Regions from separate parts of the Homo sapiens genome. Here all the other regions are linked to region 2. The links are contacts of gene promoters, found by promoter capture Hi-C in blood cells and fetal thymus (Javierre and others, 2016). All regions are on one chromosome and are shown on one strand. Each heading gives the region's core, a stretch centred on a gene start or on the middle of the fragment in contact. The rest is flanking DNA. Distances are from core to core; before and after follow the strand shown.

What was found. Contacts are between HindIII fragments. The CHiCAGO score rates a contact against its expected background, and 5 or more counts as called.
Region 1: a contact is called between a fragment that was not itself captured here and the fragment with the promoter of CD1E in region 2, in 1 of 17 cell types (fetal thymus). The highest score is 8.3, in fetal thymus.
Region 3: a contact is called between a fragment that was not itself captured here and the fragment with the promoter of CD1E in region 2, in 1 of 17 cell types (fetal thymus). The highest score is 6.5, in fetal thymus.

The regions. Positions count from the first base shown.
Region 1 is chr1:159,002,442-159,006,165 of GRCh38, forward strand. It overlaps PYDC5 (pyrin domain containing 5), which reads right to left and starts at 310. Exons shown (of 1, transcript NM_001320010.2): 1 at 1-310. It also overlaps a transcript of IFI16 not described here. RefSeq lists enhancers at 2,946-3,471, 3,472-3,724. The HindIII fragment of the contact is 4,916 bases long and covers 17-3,724 here.
Region 2 is chr1:158,351,614-158,355,401 of GRCh38, forward strand. It overlaps CD1E (CD1e molecule), which reads left to right and starts at 2,281. Exons shown (of 6, transcript NM_030893.4): 1 at 2,281-2,433; 2 at 2,764-3,060; 3 at 3,687-3,788. The coding sequence starts at 2,376. The HindIII fragment of the contact is 6,143 bases long and covers 1-3,031 here.
Region 3 is chr1:159,020,310-159,023,945 of GRCh38, forward strand. IFI16 (interferon gamma inducible protein 16) reads left to right here. Exons shown (of 12, transcript NM_001376587.1): 6 at 32-220. Among named protein-coding and RNA genes, the nearest start is that of IFI16, 12 kb to the left of the region's middle. The HindIII fragment of the contact is 4,898 bases long and covers 1-3,636 here.

The sequences.
Region 1 (3,724 bases), core at 1,225-3,724, 650 kb after region 2:
ACCAGAATATTGGCAAAGCTTGCTCCTTCACTCTGTTCAGATTTCTGCTTGTTTTTTTCTAAGCTCATCCTTCAATGAACACATGCTGCAAAATAGCACGATACCGTTACTATTACCTCATACCATTTGTATTTCTTCATAGAATTTATCTGCTTGTAATATATAAGCATTATATTATATATGACATTATAGTATAAATGCTGTTGCTATTTGTTTATTCTTTAATGGCCAGCCTGCTGAAATAGAAGTGCCTTGTGGTCAAGCATTTGTGTGCTGTTTATTGCTGTACTCCTACCACCTAGAGTAGTAGGTCCTCAATAAACATTTGTTAAATAAACATATGTTGAATCAACTGTCTAGGCATCCCATCTAAGACTTCAGCCCTGGGAATCTCTACTTCCTAGGCTCTATTCATCCATATGGCTTGATTACTCAAGAGCCAGAGTTACCTGAGAATGCACAGAGCAAATGTCCTCACTGCACATTCTTGAAGAGGGATGTTCAAGCCAGAAATAGCATAGATAAAAAACAAAATTATAATCAAACCATATCTATCTACTTGTAGAATGATTTCAAAAGACAGCAAGGTTAAGAAGGCTTTTCAAAATCCAAGGCATTATGCCAAATATATAACATATATTTAATAAAAGTGGAAAATTTGGAAACTTCCATCTCTGGTGGGAGTAATCCAACTTCCTATGGTTCCACTGTGCAAGATACCCTAGATTCTAAGAAGGAAGTAAAACATGGTGTATTGCAGGGAAACTTCAAGTAATTGAATTTGTGTGAACTTTCAGACTAAGCTGATAGAAAATCGCATGGTTTATTTTAATGTTTCTGCTATTAGTTATTTTTTCACGATAATTTAACTGGTGAATCCAGTTATCTATTTAGACAATAGATGTATTTTTATTCTGGCTATGTCATAATATTCTGCAATTACAAAATCACATAACACTTAAATTACTGCCGTAAAGCTAAGAAGAAATAACTTGCCATATTCCAAATTCCTAAAGGAGCTCGATCTCTGTTACCTAAGCAATCCCTCCTCTGTTTTGCTCTTTTGTGATTCTTAGGCTGGAATCACGTTTTGGCTCTATCAGCCTAAGGAGCAGTTAGCCACCTGTCACTGAGTTAGGGAACAAAAAGACCAAGGCGATAGGTATTTGCACCATAAACTTCTCCTATCTTGTATGTCCATAATTCTGTATTATTATTATTATTATTATTATGTTTTGAGACGGGGTCTCGCTTTGTCGCCCAGGCTGGAGTGCAGTGGCATGAGCTCGGCTCGCTGCAAGCTCCGCCTCCTGGGTTCACACCATTCTCCTGCCTCAGCCTCCCGAGTAGCTGGGACTATAGGCGCCCGCCACCATGCCCAGCTAATTTTTTGTATTTTTAGTAGAGACGGGGTTTCACTGTGTTAGCCAGGATGGTCTCGATCTCCTGACCTTGTGATCCGCCCGCCTCAGCCTCCCAAAGTGCTGGGATTACAGGCGTGAGCCACCGCGCCCAGCCAATTCTGTATTATTTTGCATTTCTGACACTCATGACTTGATACCTTAAACATTCAAACACATAGAAGCACTTATTTGTGTGAACAGCAGTTTCTTTCCTTGAACCAAAGATTGTCAACCCTTAATCTAAAACATAAAAGGAAATAAAATTCAAACACCACTTCTCCATTACTTGTAAATTTTATTTCTCTCTTCTTAATATATTAATACCCAAATTCCAGCCAAAATATTAAGGATGGATGTGGTGGCTTATGCCTGTAATCCCAGCACTTTGGGAGGCTGAGGTAGGTAGATTGTTTGAGCTCTGGAGTTTGAGATCAGCCTGGGCAACATGGCAAGACCTTATCTCCAAAAGAAAAAAAAAAGGTTAAGAAATCTAAATTTCAGTTAATTTTGCCCTTATTGCTAAGTAAATCTGAGTAAATTATAGATGTTAGTAATTTGGGGTAAGAATTCCCAAAACCAGCCGGGCATCGTGACTCACGCCTCTAATCCCAGCACTTTGGGAGGCCGAGGTGGGTGGGTCACTTGAGATCAGGAGTTTGAGACCAGCCTGGCCAGCATGGTGAAACCTTGTCTTTACTGAAAATACAGAAATTAGCCAGGCTTGATGGTGCATGCGTGTAATTCTGGCTACTTAGGAGGCTGAAGCAGGAGAATCACTTGAACCTGGGAGGCAGAGGTTGCAATGAGCCGAGATCGTGCCATCACAACAGAGCAAGACTCCGTCTCAAAAGAAAAAAAATTCCCAAAACCAGATGTTTAGGGTGGAGAGTTCATTACTGACAACAGTAGAGAATCTCATCTTCAATTTTAGAGATAAATTATATCAAGGGAAATTTTGACAGCCAAAGTGAAGTCCTGAAATTAAACAGAGTAAAGAAATTATCAATCTAGTAAAGATCCTCAAAGAATGCTTTCTGGAGAACAGTTTTAGATAAAATAAGCAAATAAAGAATGAAGATAGCAGAGATAAAGCCGGAGAAGTAGAAACTATCAATGTTTTTACCCCCTTCAAAAATAATGTTGAAACTTAGTACCCAATGCAACAGTGTTGGGAGCTTGGGCCAAATGGGAGGTATTTAGATCATGAGAATTTCACTCACGTAAATAGACTGATTAATGCCACTCTAACGGGCATGTAGGGGGTGAATTCGCCCCGTTTGTCATGTGAGGACACAGCAAGAAGGCCTCACCAGATACTGATGCTTGACCTTGGACTTCCACCTCAAGTACTGTGAGAAATACATTTCTGTTCTGTATAAATTACCCAGTCTATAGTATTCCATTACAGCAGCACTAAATGGACTAAGACAGTGGGAAAGTATGCATGTCCATTACAGGGAGGGTCAGAGAACAGGAGTTTTCATGAACCAGAAACTTCTTTCACTCATATTTTCTCCATGAGACATGCAATAAACAGATGAATGATGCCAACTCTGGCCTTGTACAGTATATCATGACTGGTTCACATCACTCCCCAGGTTTCCATATGCATTCACTCTCCTCTCCTGCCTCAACACTGAGTCTCTTTTATTCCACTCCAAAGTAAAGAGGTCATCCCTAGAACTACAGAAGCTCTTTCTGCCAACAGAGTTGTCTGGAGTTTATGGCATTAGCTTTGAGCAACAGGAAAAGTAGAATACAAAACTGCAATACAGAAACTACAAAATTTCAAGGAAGGACTGGCTGAGAGAAGCCTTGAGGTTGGAGGGGAAGGAATGGCATTGTTGTGAAAACGTGTTCTGGGAACTGAGCTTAAATTGAATTGTAGGAGGCTGCAGTCCCACTGGAAAATGCATACTGGCACCAAGATGACTGCTGCTTCCAGGAACATCCTCCCACTCCTTAGCAATGTGGAACAGATTGAAGGAAGCTCAAACAATCCATTTAAGCAGGAAGTAAATAGATTAAGAGAGCAACCAGATGGCCTAAGGCACTATCGGTATAGCTATCCCCACCCCTCAGCGCCCCCATCAGCTTTTCCTTCCTTGTTTCTTCTCACTGTCTGAAAGACTACTCAGGCGTGCACTGCGAGGTGGAGATCTGACTTCTCTTGTTCCCGCTTAAGACTGCCTCCTGTGTAAGTTTCTGCTATCTAGATCTTTGACTACCAACCAGCCAGGAGTGGTCTGCCTCTTCTTTGGTCTGAGCTTGCCTTGTGCTTATATTGTTGTACCCAAGCGAGTTAAGAAAATACCCCACAC
Region 2 (3,788 bases), core at 1,031-3,530:
TTTTGTAGGTTATTATATATTCTCTTGAATATTTATCTTTGTTTACTGTTCATAATTTTATTATGAAACCAATTTTGGATTTACATAGCGATTTATAGATAGATTTACATAGCAACTTATAGCTTTGAATGTATTTGTAGAAAAGAAAGAGTATTGAAAATAAATGTAGACATTCTACTCAGGAAACAAGGAAACTTTTTTTAATCTTTCTTTAACCTTAGAATTTAGAAATGATAATAAGATGAAACTAGGTTTGGACCTTTTTCTTTTGTTTTTTTGTTTGCAGTTTTTTTTTCTTTTTTTAATTATTTTTATTTATTTATTTATTTTTTATTATTATACTTTAAGTTCTAGGGTACATGTGCACAACGTGAAGGTTTGTTACATATGTATACATGTGTCGTGTTGGTGTGCTGCACCCATTAACTCGTCATTTACATTAGGTATATCTCTTAATGCTATCCCTCCCCCCTCCCCCCACCCCACAACAGGCCCCGGTGTGTGATGTTCCTCTTCCTGTGTCCATGTGTTCTCATTGTTCAATTCCCACCTATGAGTGAGAACATGCGGTGTTTGGTTTTTTGTCCTTGTGATAGTTTGCTGAGAATGATGGTTTCCAGCTTCATCCATGTCCCTACAAAGGACATGAACTCATCATTTTTTATGGCTGCATAGTATTTCATGGTGTATATGTGCCACATTTTCTTAATCCAGTCTATCATTGTTGGACATTTGGGTTGGTTCCAAGTCTTTGTTATTGTGAATAGTGCCACAATAAACATACGTGTGCATGTGTCTTTATAGCAACATGATTTATAATCCTTTGTGTATATACCCAGTAATGGGATGGCTGGGTCAAATGGTATTTCTAGTTCTAGATCCCTGAGGAATCGCCACCCTGACTTCCACAATGGTTGAACTAGTTTACAGTCCCACCAACAGTGTAAAAGTGTTCCTATTTCTCCACATCCTCTCCAGCACCTCTCCAGCACAGAAAGAGTATTGAAAATAAATGTAGATATTCTACTCAGGAAACAAGGAAACTTTTTATCTTTCTTTTAACTTAGAATTTAGAAATGATAATAAGATGAAACTAGGTTTGGACCTTTTTCAATAATTCTGACCACCGTTCAGTAAATTTACTGTATAAGAAAAGTAGAGGTTTGGGGTTGAATTTTGTTTTATTTTTTCCCAAAGATGTCTATCTCTGATATCTTAGGGCCTGGCAATTGTTTTTGGTCATAGGTGGGCTCTGAATAAATGTCAGTTGAACAAATATATAAAAACCAAACAAAGGAATGTTATTTCAACTGCCTTCAGAGTGTCACAACAAATATCAATGAAAAAGAAACAAAAATAAAGACTCAATTAATTCTCCAGTGAACACTTCAGTCCTCTAAAGGTACTTCCCTGTGTCCACCCAAACTGCTCTCTAACCGAACGCAAGCAAGGGGACTCCAATGCTCTCAGGCCATGAACTAATGAGGAGCTTCATGCCTGCCCTCAGTCTTTCTTCATACCCAGGGCAAAGCTGGCCCACAGACTTCCAGACATGCTTTCTTCGTTTGGGTAGAGATGGGGATCCAAGTCCCCTATGTATTTCCTCCAGAGCCACCTGTAAAACATGGGTGAAATCTACCTGCCCTCTAGCTCACCACTTCCAGGTCAAGCCCACTCATGGACCACTTTAACAGTGACAGTTGGCTTGACTGGGGAAACTGAAAAAAAGGAGCTTTCTTTAGATTTTCTGATAATCTGCATTGCCATTGCTGCTCCTTTTTCAGCAGCACAGAGAGTTGGATTATGGAGGGTTGCCTGCTTATTATGCAGCTACATCCAGGATGCTGAGTGTCTTCTGATCATGATCAAGAGCAGAGTGAAGAGATACAGGCGGAGGAGAGGATCACAGAGAGGTAGAAGTGGGAGACTGGTGGATAGGTCACTAGGCACCACTGAGTGACTACCATCACTTCTCACAGATTAGATTATTGACAAGCCAAGTATGGATTTGATTTCTACAAGGCCAAAAGCTACTCCATCTTCTAGCCAGACCACAGACTTTGTTTTAAGCCAGGACTCGTTTTCCAGCAGTTAGTGCAATTAGGGAGGTTGGGAGGATGTACACAAGAGCAGGGAGAAAATCTGGAGCCAGACAGTGAGAGAGGCAGAGGGGAAATGAAAAACCCCGTGGGAGGCTGCAGCAAAGCGAGGCAGTGTGGCTTCTCTGACAGGGAAGTCAGCAGAGGGAGAGGTTTGTCTGTCTGTACAGCAAGGGAAGTCAGACGAGAGTGCAAGAGGGTGTGGAGAGGGGTACTGATATCTGAATTATTAGGGCAGGTGTCCTGCCAAGGAATCCCTCCTTTAACAGAGCTTCAATGCTGCTCCTGTTCCTCCTCTTCGAGGGTCTCTGCTGTCCTGGGGAAAATACAGCAGGTAAGAAGAGTGCAGGTGGAAAGATACCTATGGTAGGGCACCAGAGGGCTGAGAGGAAGCTCTGGGGAGGTCCTGGGGGAAGGGAGCAGTACTCTTCTAGGATGCCCTTGGAATATGCCTTTCAGGCTAGTTCCAGGCAGAGAATTCTTGCTCTCAGTCTCAGTTTTTGTCTCTGATTTTGGAGAAAGGAAGCTGGCCCCACAGGAAAAGGGTATTGGAGTATGTACAAGCTACCTAACTGTCTCTCATCTCTGGGTTCCTTTTTTCCCTTTGGCATCACTTTTCCCATCCCTTTACATTCTCTCTACTTGTCATTTCCCTCTCTCTCAGCTCCCCAGGCTCTACAATCCTATCATCTAGCAGCAGAGGAGCAGCTGTCCTTCCGCATGCTCCAAACTTCCTCCTTTGCCAACCACAGCTGGGCACACAGTGAGGGCTCAGGATGGCTGGGTGACCTGCAGACTCATGGCTGGGACACTGTCTTGGGCACCATCCGCTTTCTGAAGCCCTGGTCCCATGGAAACTTCAGCAAGCAGGAGCTGAAAAACTTACAGTCACTGTTCCAGTTATACTTCCATAGTTTTATCCAGATAGTGCAAGCTTCTGCTGGTCAATTTCAGCTTGAATGTAAGTTCGTTGCTCTAAGCTGATAATTTGCCTGGGAACACCAACTATTTTCCAAAGTGGAAGATAGTATATAGACTCTGACCATCATTTAACCTTACTAACCTTGTTCCCCACTCTCTGACTCCCACTCCCTCCTCTGCTTCACCCTTCACCACCACCCACACTCCACCATATACACAAAAGGGCCTGCATGTACATATCTCAACATGAATATAGCTTCATGTCTGGCTCTTTGGAATGATTGTCTCCTCTGGATCTTCTGCCCCTCATTCCTGCCCTCAGACTCAGCCTTTCTCAACCCTCTTTCTGCCCTTCTTTATCCTTTGCCTGAGTGTTGACATGGACTGGCCTGTACCTAACCACTTTCACGTGAATTATTTATGACCAATCTCCTATCTTCCTGATAGCCTTCCCATCTACCACTTTCCCATTAGTTATTTCAAAGTATCTTTATTATCTTCAAATTTTCTTCCCACAAATTTTCTTCCCCTTTGCCAGTAAACTCTAGTCTCCATATGATTTCCCAGCAAATTTTTCTTCCCTTGAATCTCTTTACTGTCTAAATTGTTTGTTTTTCTTCCTTGTCATTCTTTCCATAATGATCTCTCTTCCCTGTCCACTCTCAGACCCCTTCGAGATCCAGATATTAGCTGGCTGTAGAATGAATGCCCCACAAATCTTCTTAAATATGGCATATCAAGGGTCAGATTTCCTGAGTTTCCAAGGAA
Region 3 (3,636 bases), core at 822-3,321, 670 kb after region 2:
TCAGGAACAGAATATTAATTTTCTGTTACAGAAAACAGTAAATCAGAAGACCACAATCTACGAAATTCAGGATGATAGAGGAAAAATGGATGTAGTGGGGACAGGACAATGTCACAATATCCCCTGTGAAGAAGGAGATAAGCTCCAACTTTTCTGCTTTCGACTTAGAAAAAAGAACCAGATGTCAAAACTGATTTCAGAAATGCATAGTTTTATCCAGGTAAGAATTAAATAGGCAAATATTAGTTTTCCAAAGTGGAAATGATTTGCTTTAAGTTTTGGCAAAAACAAGTTTGTAGGTTTTTTTTACAGAGTTCAGCGGGAGGCATGAGAAAACAGATATTCTCCTTGTATTCACATTTACTTTTTTTAATTTTTTTTTTCTGGATGGAATGATGTGATAGGATACAATTTTAAAAAGAAAGAAATCTGAACTTTATCAAAAAAATTGAACTCTGAATTTTATGTAAACTTTTAAGTGATTGTAGGGTTGGGATTTAAAATTACATGTTCTCCATTTGTGAATTAGAAAACGTCGTGTGTGTGTGTGTGTGTGTGTGTGATACTTTCTAGTTTGTAACATTACAATACACATATGTGTGTATTTAGTCCATAAAAATACCTAATTTGAAACTTAAAATTATTTGCAGTGATCAAAATTATGTCCCACTGACAAAGTTTTATACAGAGGAAGCTCTCCAATTTGTTAATTTGAATTCAAATATTCACGTGTTAAGTTTCCTTACAGTACATGATTTTACGCTGTTGCCATTTTGAATGTTGTAAATTATTTTTTATTTCAGTAGGTTTTTGGGAAACAGGTGGTGCTTCGTTATAGGAATAAGTTCTTTAGTGGTGATTTCTGACTTTTTGATGCACCCATCGTCCAAGCAGCGTACACTGTACCCAGTGTGTATGTAGCATTTTATCCCTCACCCCCCTCCCACTCTTTCCCCTGAGTCCCCAAAGTCCATTGTATCATTCTTATGCCTTTGTGTCCTCATAGCTTACCTCCCACTTATGAGTGAGAACATACAATGTTTGGTTTTCCTCTCCTGAGTTACTTCACTTAGAATAATGGTCTCCAATTCCATCCGGGTTGCTGTGAATGCCGTTATTTTGTTCCTTTTTATGGATGAGTAATAGTATTCCACGGTGTATACATACCCCATTTCTTTATCCATTTGTTTACTGATGGGCATCTGGGCTGGTTCCATATTTTTGCAGTTGTGAATTGTGCTGCTGTAAACATGCATGTGCAATGATCTTTTTTTGTATACTGACTTCTTTTCCTCTGGGTAGATACCCAGTAGTGGGATTGCTGGATCAAATGGTAGATCTGCTTTTTAGTTCTTTAAGGAATCTATACACTGTTTACTATAGTAGTTCTACTAGTTTACATTCCCACCAGCGGTGTAGAAGTGTTCCTTTTCACCACATCGATGCCAGCGTCTGTTTTTTAAAATTTTTTGATTATGGCCATTCTTGCACGAGTAATGTGGCATCATTTTGTGGTTTTGATTTGCATTTCCCTGATCATTAGTGATGTTGAGCGTTTTTCCTTATGCTTGTTGGCCATTTACATATCTTCTTTTGAGAATTGTCTATTCATGTCCTTAGCCCTTAGCCCTTTTTTTTTTTTTTTTTTTTTTTTTTTTTTTTTTTTTTTTTTGAGACAGAGTCTTGCTCTTTTGCCCAGGCGGGAGTGCAGTGGCGCTATCTCGGCTTACTGCAAGCTCCGCCTCCCGGGTTCACGCCATTCTCCTGCCTCAGCCTCCAGAGTAGCTGGGACTACAGGCGCCCGCCACCGCCCCCGGCTAAATTTTTTGTATTTTTAGTAGAGACGGGGTTTCACCGTGTTAGCCAGGTTGGTCTCGATTTCCTGACCTCGTGATCCGCCCGCCTCGGCCTCCCAAAGTGCTGGGATTACAGGCGTGAGCCACCGTGCCCGGCCCTTAGCCCACTTTTTGATGGGATTATTTGTATGTGCAATGCTTGTTCCCTGGTGCCATAAATAAATAGCATTTGAATATCAATTTAATTTTTTCAGCAAGGCCATTTTTATACTTTTTGTAGAAAGGGTACACTCGCCAGCAGTTTTGCCACAAGAGTATACGGAACAAAGGAGACAGGCTCATTTATAATCTGACGCGGCCACCCTCCTGCTGCGTTCGGTTTCCATTGGCTGGGACGGGACCTCACCTTCTGTATTTGTCCCGACTGGCTAGCACTTAGAACTTTTTAAAAGAGGCAAAGGCATAGGAGAACAAAGGAAGGAGGAAGTAACTTGTGGAATATTGAGAAAGGTAAAAACACCTTTAAATAAGGAAGAGGAACAGGCTATGACCTAATGCTTGCTTGGATCAGTATAAGCATGTTAGGGCAAATATTTAGGCTAAATTGTGGGAGCTAAGAACATAAAGTATATTGATTTTTTATTATGGCTAGCAGATATTTAAGAATGTTTGTACAGGTCTTTGAATAAATTTTGCTTTTAAGAGAAGTTACTATTTATTTCTAATTAGATGGGGAGGAAAGTTTTTGAAGAGGAACCTCTACTTTTTACAATTTCCCCTCATTTCATAATTCTTCTTTAAACTTGTTTAATATGTTTTGACTTAATTTTTTTTTGTCCTTTTAAGAGAAGTAATTTTTCAGAATAGGGTGGAGGAGAATTAGGAGTTAACTCTGCAAGAGTGGCAGAGATAAGTTTTTGTATAAAATTTCAAAGGCAGGGAATAATATAACAGCCTACAAGAATAAGTACACCAATAACAAGAGCAAACGAGGTGAGAATTGAAGTTAAATTTTTTTTTTATCCGCTGAACCAATGTTTTATTATTTTAGAAAAAGAGTTATTTATTTTAGAATTGTTGGCAAGTTTATCGGATAGGGCTGTTAATCCTTGTAGCACTTTTGTTATAGTTCTATCAGGGGCAGTATTAGGAATAAAGGTATAACATTGAGTTTTAATTATGACACAAACTTCTTTTTTTGCTAATATTATATTTAAAGCTATTTTATTTTTCTAGACCATCTGGCTGGTAGGTCCTAATTGCTTAGCTTTCTCTTTGATGGCGTCCTCAGTGTAATTTATGAATCGTTGCTGATTATAGTAGATATAGTTTATTTAGTCTACTTAAAAAAAATTTATAGTTACTTAACAGAGCAACATGGATTTAAACTCTGCAGCTATTTGATTTTGTGCTTTAAACTTATTTGGCACTTCTCATAGGACCTTAATAGCATTTATGTAAACCTAACGTTTAAAGGACTCATGAGGAGTTTCCTTTGGCCTGCAGTGTCTTGTTTTTACCTTTTTTTTTTTAGGTTGGTGAAATGCCAGGGTGCAGGGGATAGCCAGTTGGATTAGAGCATAAGTACTGCTCCAATTATTTGGCAGAGTGTCTAGTAAAAGTCCTCTACAATATCACCATACATTTGCTTGGGGATGGCTAAGCGTGGACTGATGGGCAAGCTCTTGGAAAGGCTTGAGCTCCTTGCATCCTTTTATGCTTCTAAGGAACACCAAATTTTACTCTTGCCGTGAGAGGCACAAAGTAAACTTGGCATTCAGAGGTGGAAGCAGGCTTGCCCTCGGGGGCGGACCCCCGGGGTATTGAGTTTCAGGAAATA